Linked DNA regions of Homo sapiens: region 1 is linked to region 2. The links are contacts of gene promoters, found by promoter capture Hi-C in human tissues and cell types (Jung and others, 2019). All regions are on one chromosome and are shown on one strand. The core of a region is centred on a gene start or on the middle of the fragment in contact, and the rest is flanking DNA. Distances in the headings are between cores, read along the strand shown.

What was found. Contacts are between HindIII fragments. The study calls those that stand out against the background at their distance.
Region 1: a fragment that was not itself captured here is called in contact with the fragment with the promoter of USP50 in region 2 in 1 of the 25 tissues and cell types used here (H1 embryonic stem cells).

What each region holds. Positions count from the first base shown.
Region 1 is chr15:50,773,738-50,781,115 of GRCh38, forward strand. No RefSeq gene overlaps it. Among named protein-coding and RNA genes, the nearest start is that of SPPL2A, 12 kb to the left of the region's middle. The HindIII fragment of the contact is 8,950 bases long and covers 952-7,378 here.
Region 2 is chr15:50,545,212-50,552,360 of GRCh38, forward strand. It overlaps USP50 (ubiquitin specific peptidase 50), which reads right to left and starts at 1,455. Exons shown (of 7, transcript NM_203494.5): 1 at 1,262-1,455. The coding sequence starts at 1,314. RefSeq lists an enhancer at 5,916-6,430. The HindIII fragment of the contact is 4,694 bases long and covers 1-3,569 here.

The DNA.
Region 1 (7,378 bases), core at 4,177-6,676, 230 kb after region 2:
AACCACCATTCTACTCTCTACTTCTATGAATTCAACTTTTTTAGATTCCACATATAAGTGAAATCATGAGGTATTTGTCTTTTTGTGCCTGGCTTCTTTACCACATTTTAAAATCCATGTATCCATTGATGGGCAATTTGGTTGTTTCCATATCTTGGCTGTTACGAATAATGCTGCAGTGAACATGGCCATGCAGATATCTCTGACATACTGGTTTCATTTCCTTTGGATATATACCCAGAAGTGGGATTGCTGGTTCCCACCATTTTCATTTACTGGTTGTGTTGTTGGGTTTGGGTTTGTGTGTCAATACCTATCTCTGAACATAACTTCTAGGAGACAATATGTTTATTACCCTTTGCCGGGCACGGTGGCTCACCCCTGTAATCCCAGCACTTTGGGAGGCTGAGGTGGGCGGATCACCTGAAGTCAGGAGTTGAAGACCAGTGTGGCCAACACGATGAAACCCTGTCTCCACTAAAAATACAAAAAATTAGCTGGGCGTGGTGGTGGGTGCCTGTAATCCCAGCTACTTGGGAGGCTGAGGCAAGAGACTCACTTGAACCCGGGAGGCGGAGGTTGCAGTGAGCCGAGATTGCGCCATTGCACTCCACCTGGGCAACAGAAGCTAAACTCTGTCTCAAAATAAATAAATAAATAAATATATGTTTATTACCCTTTTAATGGGAATAATCAATGTTACCACCTCAGTCTCAGTAATTATCTTGTTCACAGATGAAAAAGCTGCTCCAAGTTTCCTGGTGGTGTTTTTCCGAATATCTGACTTTAGCTAAATGCTTGCCTCCTTGATACCTGCTTATGAGACATTTCTTCTTGAGCAAAGCATGTGACTTGAATGCTTCCTGGTTCACAGGAGGTGACTAGGAGCAGAGAGGCAAGCTGTCAGCTGTGGTTTCATCACTGTATCTTCTGTTTACGTGTTCACATGTATTTATTACTGCTCTTGACAGAACTACTGCTCCTTTGAAATTGTGTCAATCAGTGAAACATAGTATATACTTCCTACAAGACAGGTGAATTGAAATGTTGACTTGAATGGCAGGGAGTTCAGAAGAGATGTATTCAGTAGATGGAAAGTTCAGGAGAAAGGATTTCACACAGCTCACAGTTGGAGGACTCAAGGTGATAGACCAAAACTCAGGCTTTGGTCATCTTCCCTTAGGAAATCTTTTTTTGTTTTGTTTTGTTTTTTTTGAGACCGAGTTTTGCTCTTGTTGCCCAAGCTGGAGTGCAATGACGCGATCTCGGCTCACTGTAGCCTCCACCTCTGGGATTCAAGCGATTCTCCTGCCTCAGCCTCTTCTGTAGCTGGGATTACAGGCACGTGCCACAACGCCCGGCCAATTTGTTGTATTTTTAGTAGAAATGGGATTTCACCGTGTTAGCCAGGCTGAGTCTCAAACTCCTGACCTCAGGTGATCCACCCGCCTCGGCTTCCCAAAGTCCTGGGATTACAGGCGTGAGCCACCGCACCCAGCCAGGAAATCTTTATAAGCTCTCAGCAAGAGAACTTGAATGCAAAGCCATGCAAGGTTTTATAATGTCTTATAAGTTACTATTTTTTTCTAATTAGCTTCATTTAAAGCAGTTTTATGACACAAATTATTAGTCTCATGTTGCAGATAAGGAAATTTATGCATATGAAATCTCCCAGCAAGAAATGGTGCCAGAAATTAAATCCAGTTGTGGGTGCTCTATAAATGTTTATTAAATTAAGAAATTTTGCTAATAATTAAGAAGCCAGTGTTGTGGTTTTGAATATTTTCGAGTGTGACTAAATTACCTCTGAAATGTCTTATAAAACATAAAAAAGACTCGTCTTTTGAAGAATAACTGGATCTAATTTCAAACAAAATCAACTCTTTAGGTTTCGATTTGCCTAAAAAGTCCAAGGGTTTCAGCTGGGCGCATTGGCTCACAACTGTAATCCCAGCACTTTGGGAGGCCGAGGAGGGTGCATCACGAAGTCAGGAGTTCGAGACCAGCCTGACCAACATGGTGAAACCCCGTCTCTACTAAAAATACAAAAATTAGCTGGGCGTGGTGGCGCATGCCTGTAATCCCAGCTACTCAGGAGGCTTAGGCAGAAGAATCCCTTAAACCCAGGAGGTGGAGACCGCAGTGAGCTGAGATCGCGCCACTGCACTCCAGTCTGGGTGGCAGAGCGAGATTCCATCTCAAAAAAAAGTCCAAGGTTTTCTTCACTGATAAAAGCTTGAATTATTTTTCCCTCCAGGACATATTTCTACACTAAAAATGAATAAAAATAGCCTGGTACATAAGATAACTTTAGAGATTTTATTTATATACATATATATTCTTTTGTATGAATGGTTTTTAAATACAAATTTTAAAGAAATAACTAATAGGCCAGGCTTAATGGCTCACGCCTGTAATCCCAGCACTTTGGGAGGCCGAGGTGGGCAGATCACTTGAGGTCAGGAGTTCGCGACCAGCTTGGCCAACATGGCAAAACCCCATCTCTCCTAAAAATACAAAAATTGGCCGGGCGCGGTGGTGTGGGCCTGTGGGCCCAGCTACTCAGGAGGCTGAGGCAGGAGAATCGTTTGAACCCAGGAGGTGGAGGTTACAGTGAGCTGAGATCATGCCACTGCACTACAGCCTGAGTGACAGAGTGAGAATCCCTCTTAAAAAAAAAAAAAAAAAGAGATAACAAATTGTAAGCTAGAGTTACATTGTTCTTGGTGTTGAGGTATACCAAAGGCTGCTATTGTCTGTATAAATCAGTGTTGCTGCAAGGAACAGTAGTTGACTTTAGATATTGCTGGAAAAAGCAAAACCCAATCCATATCCAAAGTTTTCTGGCATAGTGGATTGATTCACATATTAATCAAATCCTCCTCTGACTCCAGGTAAATTAATTTATATGATTTTCTTGGTTGGGCACTACAGTATTAACTATTGACATATTGAGACTACTCTGGGCTTTTTAAACCAAAGTTGTTTATTACTATTATTATTATTTGAAACAGAGTCTCGCTCTGTCACCAGGCTGGAGTGCAGTGACACCATCTTAGCTCACTGCAACCTCTGCCTCCTTGGCTCAAGCAATCTTCCTGCCTCACCCTCCCCAGTAGCTGAGACTATAGGTGCACACCACCACGCCCAGCTAATTTTTGTATTTCTTTGTAGAGACGGGGTTTCACCATGTTCGAGGCTGGTCTCAAACTCCAGGTTTCAAGCAATCTGCTCACCTTGGCCTCTCCAAGTGTTGGGATTACAGGTGTGAGCCACTGTGCCCAGCCTGAAGTTGTTTATTTATAGGAGCCTCCAGATTAATAAACTATCACCCAAAGCAAGTAAATGCAGTCAGATCTTTTTGATGCACAAGGATAATTTTAGACTTCTAAGATGCCATTTGTTACACAGCAGTATACTTTCCACATGACTTTTCTGGCTCTATTTTACTATGATTCTATGAAATATGCCTGCTCAGCAGAAAACAGATTCAGGATTTTTGACTAATAGTGCAATTCCACTAATAGCCACTGCTATTATGTGCAGAAGGAATAAGAAATATTGTGTGCAGGAGGAATGAGGAATAAACCAATTCTGCCTCCCCATGACACCAGCCAGGCACGGTGGCTCATGCCTGTAATCCCAGTACTTTGGGAGGCTGAGGGAGGCGGATCACCTGAGGTTGGGAGTTCGAGACCAGCCTGGCCAACATGGTGAAACCCGTCTCTACTAAAAATACAGAAATCAGCTGGGTGCAGTGGCGCGCACCTGTAGTCCCAGCTACTCAGGAGGCTAAGGCAGGGGAATTGCTTGAACCCGGGAGGTGGAGGTTGCAGTGAGATGAGATCTTGCCACTGCACTCCAGCCTGGGCAACAGAGCAAGACTCCATCTCAAAAATGAAAAAATAAATAAATATAAATTAGCATCTTAAATCAGTATTTGTCAGTTGTGTGTGTGTGTGTGTGTGTGTGTGTGTTATTTTGTTTTGTTTGTTTGTTTTTTTAATGTGGAGTCTCACTGTTGTCGCCCAGGCTGGAGTGCAGTTGTGTGATCTTGGCTCATTGCAACCTCCACCTCCTGGGTTCAAGTGATTCTCCTGCCTCAGCCTCCCAAGTAGTTGGGATTACAAGCACCTGCCACCACGCCTGGATAATTTTTGTATTTTAGTAGAGACGGGGTTTCGCCATGTTAGCCAGGCTGGTCTCGAACTCCTGACCTCAGGTGATTCACCAACCTTGGCCTCCCAGAGTGCTGGGATTACAGGCGTGAGCCACGGAGCCTGGACTTTAAGTCAGTATTTAAATATTAATACCAAGTATCCAATTTGGCAGGAATGTTACATTCATAACAATGTGTAGCCTGACCCCCATGAGTTTTTTGCTGAAAATACAAACTATATAATTATATTTTCTCTTTAAGAAGTCTTGACATTATTAGACACCTCCCCTGGTTTTTCTTGTTTTTCATTAACTTATACTTGGCATTCTGTGTCAGGTGTACATGCCAGAGATCACGATGATAGGGCCATGTGATATTGCTGGCCTAGTCTAGGCATTAGTGTGCAACCCCATCAGCAAGTACAGCCGGTCATTTGCAGTCACCTGGATCAGCTGAGATGGGAACATCAGTTTAAATGAAAGTGTATTTAGAGAGGTGACCCGCTGTCACGAGATAAAGACCGAAGGCCATGAGTTTAAAATTCAGTAACAAAAGGGTGGAGCTCTGGAAACTGGGAGGAGTGAGAGAAGTATTTTACAACTTATGAACATAAATGGGCACTATATATCCTTTTAAAAAAAATATAATTAATTTTCTTGAGGCATGGTCTGACTCTGTTGCCCAAACTGGAATGCAGTAGCGCAATCCCAGCTCATTGCAATGTCCATCTCCCAGGCTCCAGTAATCCTCCCACCTCAGTCTCCCAAAGTGCTAGGATTACAAGAGTGAGCCACCATGCCTGGTCAAAAGAGCACTCAGTATATATTCTTTTTTTTTTTTTTTTTTTTTTTTTGAGACAGAGTCTTGCTCTGTTGCCCAGGCTAGAGTGCAGTGGTGCAATCTCGGCTCACAGCAATCTCTGCCTCCCAGGTTCAAGCGATTTTCCTGCCTCAGCCTCCTGAGTAGCTGGGATTACAGGTATGGGCCACCACGTTTAATTTGGTATTTTTAGTAGAGAAAAGGTTTTACCATGTTGGCCAGGCTGGTCTTGAACTCCTGACCGCAAGTCATACGCCCACCTCGGCCTCCGAAAGTGCTAGGATTACAGGTGTGAGCCACTGTGTCTGGCCCTATATATTCTTTAAATTTACCTTTTTTCTTGAAGTATAATATAAAGACAGGAAAGTGTACATATTGCAAGTGTAGACTTTGATGAGCTTTCACAAACTCAACACATCTGTGTGACCAGCATCCTTTCAAGAAACTGAGCATTTCTATCTACTCAGAAGTCCCTCTACTGTTCTCTTCTAGCTGGCTTTTGCTCCCAAGAATAACTGTTTTCTGACTTCAATCACACATATTAGTTTTGTCTCTTCTCAGATTTTGTTCAGCTCTATGTTCAGTAACTTTTTGTTGGTAGCTTGAAACTGGCCGTAGTGGAAGTATTTACGCCACAGAAATCGGCAAATCAGGGTGTTGCCCCCATCCCTGAGCTAGATGTTAAACATTTATGAGCACACCACCGAGTACAGAAGTAAATAAAACTAACAAAAATCCTTGCCTTCATAGAGCTCACATTCTAGATGGGGAGAAAGACAAAATAAGTAACTGAATTATGTTAGAAGTATATTAGAAAAGGCTGGGCATGGTAGCTCACACCTGTAATCCCAACACTTTGGGAAGTCGAGGTAGGAGGATTGCTTGAGCCCAGGAGTTTGTGACCAGCCTGGGCAACATAGGAAGACTCCATCTCTACAGAAAATAAAAAAAACTAGCTGGGCATGGTGACACATGCCTGTAGTCCCAGCTACTCAGGAGGATGAAATGGGAAGATCGCTTGAGCCCGGGAGGTTGAGGCTGCCTTGGGCCATGGTTGTGCCACTGCACTCCAGTCTGTCTCAAAAACAAGAAAAGAAAGAAAAAGTATATTAGGAGAGGAAAAACACTAAAGAGAAAAGTTAAGTTGAGTAACTTCTTTTTTAAAAAGAAGTAAGGAGTCTGGGTGGTGGTAAGCATTACAATTCTAAATAGGGTGGTCAGGAAAGGCCTCACTGAGAACATAATATTTGAACATTAATTGAAAGGAAGGGGAGGAACAAGCCGTGAGTATAGGTAAGAGAAGAGTAGTTTAGGCAGAGAAAACAGCAAATGCAGAGACCCTGAGGCAAGAATGATGCAAGGGGGCCACTAGAACTGGGGCTACATGAGTAAGGGTAGATAGCGCAGGAGCTGAAATCCTAGAGGTAATGAGTGAAGGTAGTGAGGGGTGGAAGACCAGATTATGAAAGGCCTAGAAGGCCATTGTGAAGACTTGAGATTTTTTTTTTTTGAGACGGAGTCTCACTTTGTCACCCAGGCTGGAATGCAATGGCATAGTCTCGGCTCACCGCAACCTCCACTTCCTGGTTCAAGCAATTATCCCACCTCAGCCTCCTGAGTAGCTGGAACTACAGGCACGGGCCACCACACCCAGCTAATTTTTGTATTTTTAGTAGAGACAGGGTTTCACTATGTTGGCCAGGCTGGTCTCGAACTCCTGACCTTGTGATCCGCCTGCCTTAGCCTCCCAAAGTGCTGGGATTACAAACGTGAGCCACTGCACCTGGCCGAATTGAGATAATTTAATAGGGGAAAGTATAGTTTTTTATACAGCTAAAATATTAAGTTATCAAATGTTGTCAGATTCCTTGCTGAATTCAAAGGTGACTTTTGGATTGCTTTCTTTTCTTTCCCTTTTTTTTTTTTTTTTTTTTTTTTTTTTTGGAGACGGTGTTTCATTCTTGTTTCTCAGACCGGAGTGCAATGGTGCAATCTCGGCTCACTGCAACCTCCACCTCCCGGATTCAAGCGATTCTTCTGCCTCAGCCTGCCAAATAGCTGGGATTACAGGTGTCCGCCACCACACCCAGCTAATTTTGTATTTTTTTGGAGAGACAGGGTTTTACCATATTGGTCAGGCTGGTCTTGAACTCCTGACCTCAGGTGATCCGCCTTCCTTGGCCTCCCAAAGTGCTGGGATTACAGGCGTGAGCCACTGCGCCTGGCCTGGATTGCTTCCTTTAGGCTGGATTAGCCTCTAGACTTGTGTTGTTCAATAAGGTAGCCAGTACTCACATGTGGGTATTTGAATTTAAACTTATCAAAACAAAATGAGAATTCAGTTCCTCTGTTGTACTAGTCACATTTCAAGTATTCAATAGCCACACTTGGCTAATAGCT
Region 2 (7,149 bases), core at 205-2,704:
AATTAAATTATTATTATTATTATTAATAGTTAATAAAACAATAGCTATCAGGTAGTGAGCCTGGCACTATTTAAGTACTTAACATGCATTTTCCCATTAAATCTTTCAACAATTGTGTAAGGCAGGAACGATTATTTTTACATCCCATTTTACAGATGAGATGTCAGGTTTAAATGATGTAGTCATTTACTCATGGGGTGTGTGGTGGTATGTAAAAAAAGGAATATCCACCTATCTGTTTACCTCCCTCCCTCTCTCCCAACATACCTATCCATTAAGATATTTGGATTTACATATATTAAGATTGTCTATATATATTAAGATTGTCTCTATATATGTGATATATATGTATATATTTGTATATATATGTATGTATGGCATATATATTGAAGGCATAATATATGCACATTAAGAGCATGAATATATATATCTTAAGAGCACACATATGTGTATATGTGTATGTATATAGCTATATACATATAAACACACACACACACATATACACGGAGAGGAGAAAGAGCACAGACTTTGTAAAAATATAGATCTTAGTTTAAATCCCAACTATGCCGTTTATTAATTATAGGATCTGGGATTCTATGTCCGTTTCTCATCTATAAAATAGGAATAATATCATCTGCCTGATAGGATGGTTGTGAGGATTATGCAGGTATCATGCAAGCTACTTGACACAGGTTCGTCTAAATGACAACTGAAAAATTTTTTTAAGTGATTGATCTAGGATGTCCTTCCCAGTAAGCTACAGGATTAGAGTGTTCATGTGAATTGCCCAGACCTGCCTGCACAGAGAGAACACTGAGGGTTCCAAACGGGACCTCCTCTCCCTGCACAGAGCTTCCTCTTACAATTTTTTGTATTGTGCCAGGCAGCCTGGTATCTATGTCCTCTCGGATTTTTCTTTCCATATATTGTATCTAAAGTTGGGGCTCCATGAGACAGTGACCTTACCTCATACATACTTTTAAGTACAGTTATGCCAGTTTGAAAAGTGTTCACTGTTATAAGCATGGTCATTTTCACTTTTACTCACTGATACCACAGGAGGTCCTAGACTGTCACCCTTTAGGAAGGACATGTATTTATTGCCAAGATATTAGGTACAATCTTCCTTCCTTTCCGGGGACCTTCCATGGGTCACACCTGGGAGAACCCTCCTGAATGCAGTGTGTGTCCCCTGACTCCTCTGAGCTTGACTTTCCCACCACTGGGCTAATCTAGAAAGCTGTAGTAGATCAAGGCTCACAGGACGTGGTAGATATCGAAGTCATCTGCAGGGAGAGACGGCTGAGAAGTCATTTTAATGGAACCACGTTGGACTTTTGCTTCTATTCAGGAGCTACATCTATTCCTTTCAACTTCATTTCTCTGAGCCTGTTAACGCTGGCTTTTTGTTTTAAACAATTGATATGCTCCTCTCTCTTCCAGTAGCTGCGAACTGATTTTCACCTGTATCAGGCACCACTCCAACTTGGATTTTCCGTACATCATAATCCTTTCCATTCACCTTCAAGATTCTATCATGTTGCCATGAGACACTGTTACTGGGTTGTCTGAAATGTTTTAGAAAGATTAGGCTCCAGAGAATGAACTACACATATAACCTCTCTTCCTTCTTCCATCACTCAGTTTCTCTTGTGTATATATATATTACACATACACACACACACACTTAACATGTGCACAAAAATTTACCGCCACTGAGTTAGTGGACACTACGGCAACCCTGCCTGCTCTGGGCACTCATTCCCCCTTCCCAGCGACTACACCACACCTAGGAGCCCTGAGGGAATTTCCTCACCCCGGGGAGCGAGGATTTCCACTTCTATTCAGGAGCTAGATCTATCCGGACTGAATACCGGATCAGAAAAAAAAAATTGCCATAAAAGAACATTATGGGAACGATTGATGAAATTTGAATATGGATAATATGCAGATAGTTTTTTCTATTAATGTTGAATCTTCTGAATTTGATAAGATTGTACTGTGTTTATGCAAGGGGATGCCCTTGTTCTTAGAAAATACACACTGAAGTTTTTCGGGGCACAGGGGCATGATATATGCAACCTATTTTCAAACGGTTCAGGAAGCACACAGGGACAGGAGGACAGGAAGGAAGGGGACTGATAAAGCACATACTATAAAGCCAGTGCACCCACACGCCAGCAGTTGGTGATTCCGAGTGAAGGCCCACTAAAGAGCACTATTCTTGCAACTCTTCTGCAAGTTTAAAAAATTAAAAAGAGGCCGGGCGCATCGGCTCACGCCTGTAATCCCAGCACTTTGGGAGGCTGAGGCGGGAGGATCACGAGGTCAGGAGACAGAGACCATCCTGGCTAACACGGTGAAACCCCATCTCTACTAAAAATACAATTAACTGGGCGTGGTGGCGGGCGCCTGTAGTCCCAGCTACTCGGGAAACTGAGGCAGAAGAATGACGTGAACCCGGGAGGCGGAGCTTGCCGTGAGCCGAGATCGCGCCACTGCACTCCAGCCTGGGCAACAAAGCGAAGACTCGGTCTCAAAAAAAGAAAAAAAAAATTAAAAAGAAAGAATATATTACACATATTTTTTGCTAAAATGGATTTCTCTCCAGATATATGACTGGTAAGTCAAAAAAAGCAAGGTGTTGAGGAATCCATAGTATGCACCCCAACTTATGTCTAAATGGTTAAAAAAAACCCACATATATGCTCAGGCTACACGAAGATATTTAGAATATTCATTCTTTGACACCTGGATAAGGAATCCTGGCAAGTAGAGCTGTCCTCTCTTGCAGGTATTTGATATTTGCGATGTATTTACAGAGGTATCTCTCCAAGTCACCTCAGTGGTGGTTCTGCAGGACTTAAATCCTGTAAACTTGCTCTATTTGTCAGTGAGGCTCTCCCAAGTCCTTCATTTTCTCCTAATCAATAGGGTCTTTTAAAAGTTTCATTTTGTGTTTGATGCTGGTAGGTAAAAATACAATTATTTGTCATATGTTGGTTGTCTATCCAGGAACCTTTCTAACCTGACTTACTCTTTAATTTTTTAATTTTTATTTAAATAGAGACAGGGTCTCGCTATGTTGCCCAGGCTGGTCTCGAACTCATGGGCTCAAGCAATCCTCCCACCTCACCCTCCCAAAGTGCTAGGATTACAGATGTGAGCCCCTGAGTATGGCCTAACTTGACTTACTTAAGTCTAATTTTTACATAGGTTCTTTGGATTTTTTATAAACACATTCAAGTTGTCTGCAACAAAATCAGTTTAATTTTTTTCTGAGTCTTACTTCTTCTTTACTAGTGAGGACTGCCAGTAAAATAGTGAAAATAGTGAAAAATTGTGAACATAGTAAAATAGTGAATAGAAGTGGAGATAGCTAATTGCTTAACTCAGAGAGAAAGCTTTGGATAATTCACCATTAAGTATGATGTTTGCAGACATAGTATTGAAGAGTTGTAATCATGAATGGATAGTGAGTATGACCAGATTTCTCTGTATTTATTGAGGTAATCATGAGATTTTCTTTCTTATTCTGTTATTGTTGTTCATTATCAATGATGGTCACATATTAATCTTCTATTCCTCAGGTATATTTTGTTTGAGCTGTAGTTATTATTTTCGTGAATTGTTGGGTTCTAGTTGTTAATCTTTTTGTTCAAGGGTTTTGTATCTATGTTCATGAGTTAGATTATCTATGTGTTAATATTCTGTGCTCTATAACAAACTACTAAGCTTAGTTTAAAACCAGACATGGGGCTGGGTGTGGTGGCTCATGCCTGTAATCCCAGCACTTGGGGAGGCCGAGGTAGGAGAATCGCTTGAGTCCAGGAATTCAAGACCAGTTTGGGCAACACAGTGAGAATATCCCCCACCCCCACCCCCATTCCCCCCCACCCCACTCTCCACCCTCCGTCTACCAAAAAAAATAATAATAATAATTAGCCGGGCATGGTGGTGTATGACTGTAGTTCCAGCTACTCAGGAAGCCAAGGTGGAAGGATCACTTGAGCCCAGGACGTCATGCTTGCAGTGAGCTGTGATTGTGCCATTGCACTCCAGCCTGGGTGACAGAGACCCTGTCTCAAAAAGAACCCCAAAAGCCAGGAGTGGTGGCTTACACTTGCAATCCCAGCGTTTTGGGAGGCTGAGGCGGGTAGATCACTTGAGGCCAGGAGTTAGAGACCAGCCTGGCCAACATGGCGAAACCCTGTCTCTACTAAAAATACAAAAAGAATAGCTGGGCATGGTGGCACGGGCCTGTAATCCTAGCTACTCTGGAATCTGAGGCACGAGAATCCCTTGAACCTGGGAGGCGGAAATTGCAGTGAGTCAAGATCATGCCACTGCCCTCTAGCCTGGGCAATAGAACAAGACTGTCTCAAAACAAAACAAAACAAAACTCAAAAAGGAAAACCAGATATAGTTTAGCTGGGATCTCACATTGCATTTAGTTTTCATGTCCCTTTTAGGCTCCTTCAACCTGAAACGGTTCTATGTATTTCCTTGATTTTCATGAACTTGACTTTTGAAGATTACTGACCAATTATTGTGAAGAATATCCCTTAATTTCTATTCAGGAGCTACATCTATCCGGACTGAATCCCAGATCAGAAAAAAAAAATTGCCATAAAAGAACATTAGGGGAACTATGTTCTCTGATGTTTCCTCATTAGATTCACATTATGCATTTTTATGAAGAATATCACAGAAGTGAAGCTATATTCTTATTGCATTGTATTAAATGTTATACAATTTTGATTTGTCCCAGCACTGGTTATGTGAACTGTGATTAACTGTGATAACTTGAATGAGGTAGGGTCTCCCAGGTTTCTCCAATGTAGTTTTTCCTTTTGTAATCATCAGGAAGCATTTTGCAGGGAGGACTTTGAGACTGTGTAAATGGTCTGTTCCTCATCAAACTTTCATACATTAGTTTTAGTAATTGATGTTTCTTGGCTGGATTTTTGCTATGGTGATTGCCAAGTGGTGATTTTCTAATATCATTATTCTGACTACATTCATCTGTTGGTACTCGACTATAAAGAGAAGTTTCTCCATTTCTTTTTTTTTTTTTTGTGACAGGGTCTCACTGTCCCCCAGGTTGGAGTGCAGTGGCACAATCTCAGCTTCCTGCAACCTCCACTTCCCAGGCTTAAGCGATTCTCCAGCTTCAGCCTCCTGTGTAGCTGGGACTACAGGTGCACGCCACCAATGCCTGGATAATTTTTGTAATTTTTGTAGAGACAGGGTTTTGCCACGTTGCCCACGCTGGTCTTGAACTCCTGAGCTCGAAGCAATCCACCTTGGCCTCCCAAAGTGTTGGGATTACAGGCGTGAGCCACCGCACCTGGCTGTCTCCATTTATTCTTTTATTTTAATCAGCATGGACTCACAAATTCCCGTTTTGTTCAATGGATTACATCTGATATTTTATTTATTTATTTTTAAATTATACTTTAAGTTCTGGGATACATGTGCAGAACGTGCAGGTTACATAGGTATATGTGTGCCATGGTGGTTTGCTGCACCCATGCTATCCTTCCTCTAGCTCCCCACTCCCTGACAGGCCCCGGTGTGTGATGTTCTCCTCCCTGTGTCCATGTGTTCTCATTGTTCAACTCCTGCTTATGAGTGAGAACATGTGGTATTTGGTTTTCTGTTCTTCTGTTTGCTGAGAATGATGGTTTCCAGCTTCATCCATGTCCCTGCAAAGGACATGAACTCATCCTTTATGGGTGCGCATCTGATATTTTCATGTTTTTTTGTGTGTGTGTTTTTTGAGACAGGGTCTCGCTTTGTTGCTCACTGGAGTGCAATGGCATGATCTCGGCTCACTGCAGCCTCAATTTCTTGGGATCAAGCAATCCTTCTGCCTCAGCCTCCTGAGTAGTTGGGACTACATCACATGCCACGAAGCCCAGCTATTTTTAAATTTTGTTGTAGAGACGGGGGTTTCACTATGTTGCCCCGGCTGGTCTTGAGCTCTTGGTCTCAAGCTCAACCACTTTGCCCTCTTAAAGTGCTGGGATTATAGGTGTGAGCCACCGCACCTGGCCATGATTTATTTTAGATGTTCAAATGGTCTCAAGATTAGCCTGCAGGAAGCCCTTCAAGATGTCTTCTGTATCCATTTGACATGTCCTTATTGTTCTTTGAGCACTTCCTTTGTTTGGCACAGCAAGATCTTCTAGAGTACCATTCCTGCCCCAATCCTGAAGTCAGGTGTTTCTCCGAGCCCTGGTTCCTTTTAGTGAAGAATGGTATTTAGAAACCAAGATCTGGGAGCTGGGTATACTCATGTTATTACAGCGTTGCTGCTTCCAGGTCCTCTATGCATACATACATCCACATCCATAGGTATATCTCTCTACATTTTTTTTTCAGTATTACTACCATACTGAATACATCTTGATATTTTGGGAACCATGAATTCATGCCAGTAATTCCAATTCCAAACCTACATTTCAGGATTTATTCTAGTTTCCTCCCTTTTACATATTTACAACCCCATCTCCAACAGAGAGGCACTTCCCATTGTCCTCAATGTATTTCCTTATTTGATCAACCCCTCTGCATATAACTAATCTCCTGTCGCTGCTGACATCAACCCCACTCCCCTCTTTACACAACACACAAGCACTATCCTCACCCTGCTTTGCTGACACCCCCCACCAGGTCACTGTTGCCTCCCAACATGAACACCTATGATTGGTCTGAAACCTAATGGATTTTAGACTAAATTATGAATGAATGAGGATGAAAGGGACCTGGGGCCTGGTCTTCCTGTTAGTGTGTGTGTGTTTTTGAGACAGCATCTTGCCATGTTGTTAGGCACATCCTGAACTCCCAGGCTCAAATTATCCTACTGCCTCAGCCTCCCAAGTAGCTGGGATTATAGGCGTAAGCCACCACTCCTGGCCCTAGTGGATTACTTTGTAAAAATCCTCTCCTTCCCCTCCAACTTTTTTATTTCCTTCTAATGGCCAAGAAGTGTATTGTTTCTATATTCTATTTATTTCCTTTAAATATTAAAAAAAAAATAAAAGTAACCTGTTACCTTAATCTATTTGGGTCTAAGGTTTGAATAGCAAAGAATACTGTTTTATCCCAACCTATTTGGTTTCTAAACTCTGGATGCCACGAGTC